Linked DNA regions of Homo sapiens: region 2 is linked to region 1. The links are contacts of gene promoters, found by promoter capture Hi-C in blood cells and fetal thymus (Javierre and others, 2016). All regions are on one chromosome and are shown on one strand. The core of a region is centred on a gene start or on the middle of the fragment in contact, and the rest is flanking DNA. Distances in the headings are between cores, read along the strand shown. Region 1 holds the start of POMP (proteasome maturation protein). Region 2 holds the start of MTMR6 (myotubularin related protein 6).

Region 1 (4,728 bases), core at 126-2,625:
TAACACACCTAACCTACTAAACATCAGGCCTTAGCCTAGCCTACCTTAAATGTGCTCAGAACACTTACACTAGCCTACAGTCGGCCAAAATCATCTAATACAAAGCCTACTTTATTAAAAAGTACTGGGTATCTCATGTAATTTATTGAATACTGTACTGAAAGTGAAAAACAGAATGGCTGTATTGGTACTCAAATATGGCCTCTACTGACTGTGTATGGATTTCACACCATCATAAAGTCAGAAGATTGTTGAACCACCAGAAGTTGGGGACCTTCAGCAGAGATGTGTGATTGTTGCTTTCCAAATGTATCTTCTATTACTTCCCTATATGAACATTCTCCTCCTTCTGGACTGCTTTATTGTAAAGTAACAAGGTTTCAACGCACAAAGAAAAGGTGAATTCTGACTTCTGGATTCTGTTATTGTCATTTTTCCCAATTTCCTTCTGTAAAATATCAAGATTAGTACTTGCTGTTTCTAATAAAGGAAGGAGCCGAGAAAGGCAAATCTACGAAAACCTAACTACTAGTTACATTTGAGAGTGCCTAAAAAACTTTTTAGATAACGATTAGCAGTATTTACCAATAGAAACTTTCTAGATTTGGATGGATGGCCTACCAGCAGTACCGATATCAGAGTCTGTGGCAATGGTGACTCAGTGTTCTTCTCAAATACCACAACTTCTAAGTTAAAAAGAAAGAGAAAGTGGTGGGGAGGAGAAGGAGGGAGGAGATATACTAACAATACTGGCAAACAGGGAATAGCAACTGTCTGATTTTTTCCCCTCTAACATCTAGCACACTACAAGCTCTCAAAAAAGTTTGTAGAGCAAAGCTGCGTTACACAAATGCGACCTATAGTTGTGGGCTGTTTACTAGGCAGTTACAAGGGCGGGGGCTGGGGGAGATGAGGAGTCTGAGAGCTCTGGGCTCCCAGAGGTTACCCGTCAAGGAAAGGGTCGCCAGCGCCACCCCACAGAACGTTGCACTTTCACGGCTGCCTTTTCCACTTCTGCGCCAAGTAAGGGGAGGAGGTCTGGGCCTGCTGGGGTCTAAGGGATGGAAGGGCGCAAACCGAGCTAAGAGGAGCAGGATGAAGCCGAAGCACTGCTAGTGGGACTAGTGCCGGGCCCCGGCGACAGTCACGACCCACCCAAACCCCGTGACTCGACAGATTATGGCGCCTGAGGCCGGCCTCAGCCCCACGCTGCCGCCGCCGCCGCCACCGGGGACGGGTTGGGAGGCGACTGCCTGTTTCTGCCGAGCCACGGTCCCGAGCCCGCGTGGAACTCCAGCCGCCCGGGTACCCACTCACCATCTTCCGCAGCTCTGCGAACAGCCTCTCTGCCCCGTTACCGTCAGTCGACCCCGCCGCTCACTTCCGTTTCCGAGGGCTGGCCCCCACATCCGCCGGAAGTGCGTCCGTCCTGGCGAGGAAGGAAGGAGGGCGCGGGACGCCGGAGGGAGCTGCGCGGGGCCGAGGCTCCCACGCTTGCAATCCCAAGGGACCCAGGGCCAAGGGCGCAGTAAGGGTGTGGGCTGGGAGGAGGGAGGGGTCGGGACGAGACGTGCCTGAGGGGAGGGAAGACACGGACTCCGGTTTATTAATAAACATCTACGGTTTGTACGGCATTTTAAGATGTGCAGTGTGCTTTTGTAGGTACATCGCCTTATTTAACACAAAACCTCTCTGAGGTAGCTATTACATTTCACAGAAGGGTAAACGAGGCGTAGGTGGTTTGAGTGATTTGCTTGAGATCGTTCGGCTAATAAAGCAAAATTGGGACACAAGGCTTTTGTCATTTTTAAAAAACATAATATTGAAGGCCTGGTATGTTCCGAACCCTGTGCTGAGGCTAGGAATACAAAAAAGGACCAGGCCGGTGTGGCCTCTGGGCTAGAGGAGCAGGGGTACTCCGGAGGCTAGAGGGGAGAGAGGGGACGATAGTGACTACAAATTAAGTAAATGTGATCATGACCGACATATGTTGGGCCCTTTGAATTGCGTTATCAACACAGTTCTAAGTGCTTACATCCTTTATCTCTTTTAATCTTTTCAATAACCTTACAAGTACAATTTACAGGTGAAGAAACCGAGACATGAAGGGCTTAAATAAATATGCCTAAGGACATATTTATGAGTCTAGAATCCATGCTCATTACACTATTCTGTATTGTTCAAATATAATGTAATAAAACGGCCTTATAGTCTGCTGCCACAGGATGGAGACATCTTAGGGAATCTTTGGACTGACAGCTAAAAGATAAGAGCGAACTAGTTTGGGGTAGTAGGATATTTAAAACAACATTACGTGCAGATCTGCTTGTGCAAAAACGGAACTGGAAAGAAGGCCTAAGTCTGGCTAAAGTTCAGAAAGTAAAGTGGAGAGTACTGTGAGATGAGGTTGTAAGTAGATGGAGGCAAGTGGTTTTTGTTGTTGTTTTTGTTTGTTTGTTCTAAATAATGATAGGGTTTAGCTATGTTGCCCAGGTCTGCGTTGAACTCCTGGGCTCAAGCGATTCTCCTGCTGCAGCCGGCTGAGTAATGGGAACTACAGGCGTGCATCATGGGACCTAGCTACAGGTTTTTTATGCAGCCTTTGTAGGCAAGATTAAGGATGAGGCTTTGTCTTTAAAAAGCCATCGAAGGATTTGAGAGAGGAAAATGATAAGGCCATATATGTTATGTATATCCACTGCCATGGTCATACAACTTTGAAGTTCCAGATGTTATGTGTTCTGCCATGCTGTCCTTTAGGTGTCTTCTGGTCCTTCACAATAGCCATGTTTAATCCTGAGATTTGAGTTGGAGTGTTTCGTTTGCATCTTTTTTTCTTTCCGTCAATTCCACCTGAGAAATTGTAAAACTGCGAATCTTTTCTTAAAAATCATTTTAACATTTGCTGATTGCTCACAGTTCAATGAATATGTATTGAACATTTGCTTGGTACTAGATTCTGGAGCTATAAAGAAGAAAAGAGCAATTCCCTGTACCTGAGATGCTTATATATTTTCCTGGGGAAATAGACATGCAAACAGATATTTAAAATGCAGCATGGGCTGGGTGCAGTGGCTCACACCTGTAATCCTAGCACTTTGGGAGCTGGAAGCAGGCAGATCACTTGAGGTCAGTAGTTCGACACCAGCCTGGCCAACATGGCAAAAGCCCATCTCTACTAAAGATACAAAAAAAAAAATTAGCCAGACATCATGGTGCATGCTTGTAGTCCCAGCTATTCAGGAGACTGAGGCACGAGAGTCGCTTGAACCTGAGAGGTAGAGGTTGCAGTGAGCAGAGATCACGCCACTGCACTCCAGCCTAGGTGACACAGCAAGACTCCATCTCAAATAATAATAATAAAATAATAAAATGCAGTGTGATAAATGCTTGATAGAGAAAGGGGCTAAACCAGAAAGTTGTTGGGAGCAGGAGAAAACAGCATTCACGGAAGAGGAACATGTAAAGGCAAGAGATCTGTGAAAAGTCGTGTTGTTATCTGAGTAATGGAAAACATTTCCCTGTGGCTGGAGCTCTGGGTGAGCAGGTGAAGCAAAATGAGATGAGGTTGGAGGGACAGGTTGGGGCCAAAACGAAGGGCCTTCTATGGTATGCTGAGGTTTAGGGCTTTTTCTTATAGACAACAGGAGATAATGGAGGTCTTTTCACAAACATTTGGCATTAAAAAAAAAAAATTCTGGTGGCAGCATGAAGGACAGACTAAGATTGGGAGAAAGTAGGAACCAGGATACCATTTAAGCCACTAATGGTACGCTAAGGTAGTGTCACATACTGGAAAGGCTTTGAAAGGAAGGAAAAAGTAGGAGTGAACCTAAGAAATACCAGAATTCAAAAGACAGCCAGAAGAAGGGGAGCCTGCTTTAAAGGCTATGCCATCTTCGAATCAAAAGGGCAAGGAAGTATTGAGAGGTTAGAAAGTAGTTCAAAAGTAGCTAAAAAGGGATCATAAAGCCCTGAAAATAGGCTTTTGGTGACCAGTGTGAAGAGTTGTTTTAGTGGCTCAGCAAGGAGAAAATTCCCTTTATTTTGAGTCTTACACTCAAGTTTATGTCCTATTTTAAATGGTTTGTTACAGTATTAACTAATACGGGGTACTTTTGAGTATGCTAAATAAGAAGTAAATTAGATTTGATGCTGGAATGATTTAATTATGTTTACTTAAGCTTTATGTTAAATAGCTTAGAGGATAGAACATTAGTAATGATAGCTAACATTTGTTACATGTCAGGCCAGGGTTTAGTTTTTTGCATATATTGTTTCAATTAATCCTGTGAGGTAGATACTATCATTATGCACATTTCACAGAAAATGCTGAGGCATTGTATGAGAACAAGCACCCTATTTTGTTTTACTTTTTGTAGTCGTCTTTGACTTTACTCTTAAGTCAGTCTGGTGACATAGCTAGGTAAACTGAGGACAAATTCAGCTTCATTCACATCTGGCAAGAACCCTCCTCCCTCCTCCTAGCTCTTTCCCCATTTGTTACCTCATCTGTCTCCTGTTTGGGTACTATTCTTGTACTTCATCTTGTCAGCTGAATTTGGGTCTTCTGACCTAAATTTTAGTGCTCCCTAACGATCTAAAATTACACTTAACTTTGCTCTTTTCTGTTATTTGCCTAAGCTTGGCCCTGGGCACCCAAACCCTATTACCCAGCCTGCTTGGTTAGCCCCCTCTTAAAAGCTGCTTTGTCTCCACAGCACAGTG
Region 2 (5,175 bases), core at 368-2,867, 3.4 Mb after region 1:
AATGGGGAAGGAGGAAGTTGTAAATTGGGAGGAAAATGATATAAAAAGTTTTGTTAAGAAAGTCTTGCTGTATGCTATACAATTCACCTCTTTCTGTTTTCTCAAAAAGCAATCCTCAGTAAAGACCTACATTACTTTTCTCTCTCTCTATATATATATATATGTGTATATATATATATATGTATATATATATATATATATATGTGTATATATATATATATATATATTTTTTTTTTTTTCTGAGCAGGATTTGTGGGGTTTTTTTTCGGGGGGAGGGGGTGGATGTGATACTGTACTAAGGTTGGTTTCTAGGTGGTTTAATGTAACTCTTATTACATATTTAGCTTAGAGGAGTCAGCAACTCCACCGCAAAGGCTGTTGTGTTTAATAACCATCTCCATTGCTTTGGCAATCTGTCTGAAACATCGTAGGCACTCAAAACAAAACAAACCAAGACAACTTGAACAAAATGAAACAAATAAGTGAAACAAAATTTTTAATTATAAAAGAAAATTTAGATGTTAGGCTTTTCTAACACCAATCACAGTATGAAAGATGAAGATTACAAACCTTAACCGGCTTAGTACAGAATACTTACAAAACGTAGAGCAGAGTTTCTCGGACTCTAACTCCTGACCTCAAGTGATCCGCCCGCCTCAGCCTCCCAAAGTTCTGGGATTACAGGCGTGAACCACCGCGCCTGGCATAGAGCAGGGTTTCTCAACCTCTGCACTGTTGTCATCTGCCGGATAATTCCCTGTAGTTGGGGGGTTGGTCTGGTGCCTAGTAGGGTGTTCAGCAGCCGACTTGTGACTTGGCCTCCACCCACCAGTTGCCCCCCGCCGCCACCCCCCCACCACCACCATTTGAGACAACCAAAAATATCTCCAGATGTTACCAAATGTCCCCCGGGGAGAAAACTCACTCCAGGCTGAGAAGTACCACATTAGACGTGTTCTAACAAAAATTACCTGTAACCCTCACCTAGAAATGTAAACTTTTTGTTTACATAAATAAAAATTACAGAGCACGGCTACATTGAACTTATTGTTCCATAGTCAGTTTTTTCTTCACTCAGTAATGCAGCATTAACATTTTCGTTATGTGATATCCCTCTACAGGATGAGTTTTAATGGATGCTGGTGCTAACATCGTATGAAATTGAGGTAGGAGGCGGGACTCTGACACCAGACCAGATTGAGGACTAGCTAATCATCATACTTTACATAAGGAATCCGTAGGATTGGAGAGTTGATTGTTTCAAATAAGGCTGGTTTCCTTATTTGGTTATTTCCTTAGAATAATAACTCCAAATCTGATTATTTCCTTAGAATACATTCTTATGAGTAGAACTGCAGCTCAAACTAAATTTGGTGCTGTCCAGTGGTATGGCGATGGACTTCAGAACATCCTCCACTCTTGCCCTCACCCCACAAGAACCCTTTACTCGGGATCCATTCTCACGCAGTCTTCCTCCCCGACCGCCCCGCGCGTCCGCTCGGCGGGATGACAAAGACCGCCTCGGGTGGGGTGGTGAGCAGTACCGGCCTCCTCCAGCAGGGGGCGCTGTGGGATCCGCCGCTGTCCGGGACGAACCAGCAAGCCGCTCTCGGTCCACACACGCTCTGTCTGCCTGCCCCGAGTCCCCCGGGAGGCCGCGGGGTTTGGGGAAGTGTTTCTAGGAGACGGCGCTCACCGGCTGCACCTGCGCCGTTGACGCCACCGGGGCCGGCAGACAGACCCGCGGCGCTGGCTGGTGGAGGGAGTTCCCGCTTGCTCTCTGTCGCTGTCACCGCCCTGTTTCTGTAGCCGTATGGTACGCCTGTGAGACCGGCTGCCGGCTGACGTCTCCTTGCGATGGAGCATATCCGGACGACCAAGGTAGTCGGGCGCGGGATCGCCAGTCTTCAGGGGCCCTGCTCTGACCCGGCTGAGGCAGGAGGAGACGAAGGCTCTGCTGGCCTGACTGGGGCTGGGAGCCGGCCCGGCGGAGACCCGGCCCGGGGCGGGAGGGTCTGGCCAGGCCTGGTCTGGGAGGGCAGGGTTAGCTTGGGCCAAGCGGGGTGCAGAGGCCTCCTGTACCTACAGGAGCAGGGGTCCCACTTTCAGCATCTTGGAGTGCGTAGAGATAAGTCTGGGAAAACTGGTCACCGCCCTCCTAGCTCTACGTTTTCTCGGGCAAAATTGGGGCTCCTTTAACTTTGGAGTCTTTCAGCCTTTCGTTGCCTCATCAACCGGAAAACCGTCTTCAAATTAACATTATGATGCTGTGTAAGCTTGTCCTTGCTCACATTTCATTGTCCCGTGTCACAGATTCACAGTACGAGTTTTGGAGGAACCGAGATCAGCACTCCGCTCCACCTCCCTTTGCTGTCTCGGTCTCCAGTCTTTCGCATCCGGTGTTTCCGTGTCTGTGCTTCATACTTCAGGCATTGTCCTGTGTCAGTAGTCAAGAGTTCTGGAGAAGGGAAAAATGTTATTCCATATTTTAAAAGGTCGGATGCAGCTTTATTCGATTGACCTTATTGCACTCCATGCTTAATTTTTGTGTGTGGAAGACCTTCATTTTGAGAACGAACAAATATTTTTATTTCGTTACAAATTTAAAAACGGAAGGAAATGACATCAGAATGTTACCAAATTACGTTTCCAACGACATTTAAGTTTAACTTTGAGAGGGAGAAAAACATAAATCGAGACGAGAAGAATAACATTTTAAAATCACTGCGAGCCCACTGCAAGGCAGCCTCTTGACGTTTTGGCAAAGCTGAAGCCCTTTAGTTGCTGCCCATCTTAAAATTACGGCTCATTTAGGGAACCACAGATGTTCGTTATCTTCATTGTTCCAAGAAGAATTTGTGTTTTTAAAAATTTTTTAAATGTTTCACAAACCTTTTAAAGGTATACATAAATTTTTATTGGAGCTTGTCTTTAACATTGTGCATACCGTATCTAGTAAAATTGAAGATTCTGAAAACTAACCCCTTAACATTTTTTTTTAAGAGAAGAAAGATAAAATAACTTGAGAATTCAAGTTGTGGGTACTTAAATTTTGAAAATGGAAGGGTGCTTAAGTCTATAACCAAACTCGTAGAAGGTGCACAGAGGAAAAGAGGACTAGAGTGGACATTGGATCAGGTTCTTGTATTGGTTCCAGATATGTATTATGTAGTAGCTAAGTGCACGTGACTTCCTTCTGCATCAGTTCGAAGCTCCTCTATTTTTCATATGCTTTCTACGGTGCATAGCACACAATCGAAAACCGGTAAAAGGCTGGGCACGGTGGCTCACGCCTGTAATCCCAGCACTGTGGGAGGCCGAGGTGGGCGGATCACTTGAGGTAAGGAGTTCGAGACCAGCCTGGACAACCTGGCAAAACCCCATATCTACTAAAAATACAAAAATTAGCCGGGCATGGTGGCAGGCGCCTGTAATCCCAGCTACTCAGAGGCTGAGGCAGGAGAATTGCTTCAACCGGGGAAGTGGAGATTGCAGTGAGCCAAGATGGCACCAGTGCACTCCAGCCTGGGCAATAGAGCGGGACTCAGTCTCAAAAAAAAAAAAGAAAGCCGGGTGGGGTGGTATGTACCTGTAGTCCCAGCTACTCGGGAGGCTGAGATGGGAGGATGGCTTGAGCCCACGAAGTGGAGGTTGCAGTGAGCCAAGATTGCGCCATTGCCCTCCAGCCTGGGTGACATAATTGGGGGGGGGGGGGCGGAAAAGAATAAAAAATCAGTAAAAGTAAACTGAATCTGATCAACTAGAGCAAATCCTATTCTTAGGTGGATGATAAGAGTGAACAGACTTGGAAAATATTTAGGATCCCTTGGTTATTTTAAATCTTTCCTCATTCAATTTATTATGAATATATATCTTTGTTTTTATTTGTAGAGTTGTAGCCCCTCTTATTAGCTCTTTGAAAGTTGTCACTGGTGACTTTCATTTTGTCTGATATTCCTCCTTATCTACCAACTGATGAACTTTTCTTCAAGTAATGCTCTGATTTTGACTTATCTTTACACAGTGGTCTCATGCTAGTGGTTTAATAAGGCCTTTTTAGAGACTAAGAAATTTCTGATGAATTGTCTATTAAAACTACTTTTCAAATATGCTCCTTTATTACTTTGGGTTGTTTTTCTAGTATTGGATCACTACTCTGGAGTAATATTAAGTGAGTGTATGTAGACCGCAAATAAATATTTTCTAGGTACCTAGTATGTGCCAGACACTGTATTGACACTGGGTATATAACAGCAAGATAGAGGTGGACCTCAGGGTACATTCTGTTAATTGTTGTGGGGACTGTAACATGTTCTTAAATTATTAATGTATTGGGAAATAACTTACTTTTAAAAGATTGGTTTGAACATAGCCAAACTTTTGTTTCCATTATGCATAGCCTTCACCTGGATTTAGTTAGTTTGCTGCAAAAATAAGTGTAAGTATTTAAAAAGCAAAAGTGGATTGTTTTAGATTTATTAGCTGTTTTGACCTCTATGTAGTTTAGTCATTAGGATCAAAATTGACCGTAGAGTGTCCTTTATGACTATTTAGTGATTTTTGTTGTTCAGTCAGCTCTATTTGAAAAGTAATAATTACCATTTATTGAGCAACTATATGTCAATATAGCCAATTATACAATATTATTACTTTATAATATGTACAATTGTATAAATCTGTTAATTTATACATTATCATCACTGATCTCTTAAATAACCCTGTCAGTTGGGTAGTATTATCTCCATTTATAGGTGAGGAGGAAATAGGCTTAGAGAATTTAAGTAACCTGCTCAATTAGTTCACAAGAGATAGAATTAGTATTTAAACTAAGGTGTGTTTAACTCCAAAGACTATGTATGCTCTTTCCAGTGCCTCTCTAGTTTTAATCTAATTGTTAAATGTGCATTAGTATTAATTCAGAAATAAATGCTGATGATAATTCTAAGAGCTTCCCCCCCAAACCTCTTTTTGTCATAAATAAATAATATTTATGCGGTATTGTTTTTAAATAATATTTAGGATCATTATTGCTTGCTAACCAGAGATTTATCAGATTAAGTATTTTAGCTGAATACTAATGAACATATTTATCATTCTGTTTTGGTCACATTTGGTTTACTAACTGTATAGCATCAAAGATGCCAAGTCCCTGAATCTGGATTTCTGAAAGAGCAT

The links. Contacts are between HindIII fragments. The CHiCAGO score rates a contact against its expected background, and 5 or more counts as called.
Region 2: the fragment with the promoter of MTMR6 here is called in contact with the fragment with the promoter of POMP in region 1 in 1 of 17 cell types (non-activated CD4 T cells); the score reaches 6.7 in non-activated CD4 T cells.

The regions. Positions count from the first base shown.
Region 1 is chr13:28,655,777-28,660,504 of GRCh38, reverse strand. POMP (proteasome maturation protein) reads right to left here and starts at 1,375. Exons shown (of 6, transcript NM_015932.6): 1 at 1,318-1,375. The coding sequence starts at 1,320. RefSeq lists a silencer at 1,443-1,502 and an enhancer at 1,723-1,882. The HindIII fragment of the contact is 5,788 bases long and covers 1-4,186 here.
Region 2 is chr13:25,283,930-25,289,104 of GRCh38, reverse strand. It overlaps MTMR6 (myotubularin related protein 6), which reads left to right and starts at 1,617. Exons shown (of 14, transcript NM_004685.5): 1 at 1,617-1,881. The coding sequence starts at 1,858. RefSeq lists enhancers at 1,304-1,473, 1,574-1,913, 1,617-2,237. The HindIII fragment of the contact is 4,901 bases long and covers 1-2,278 here.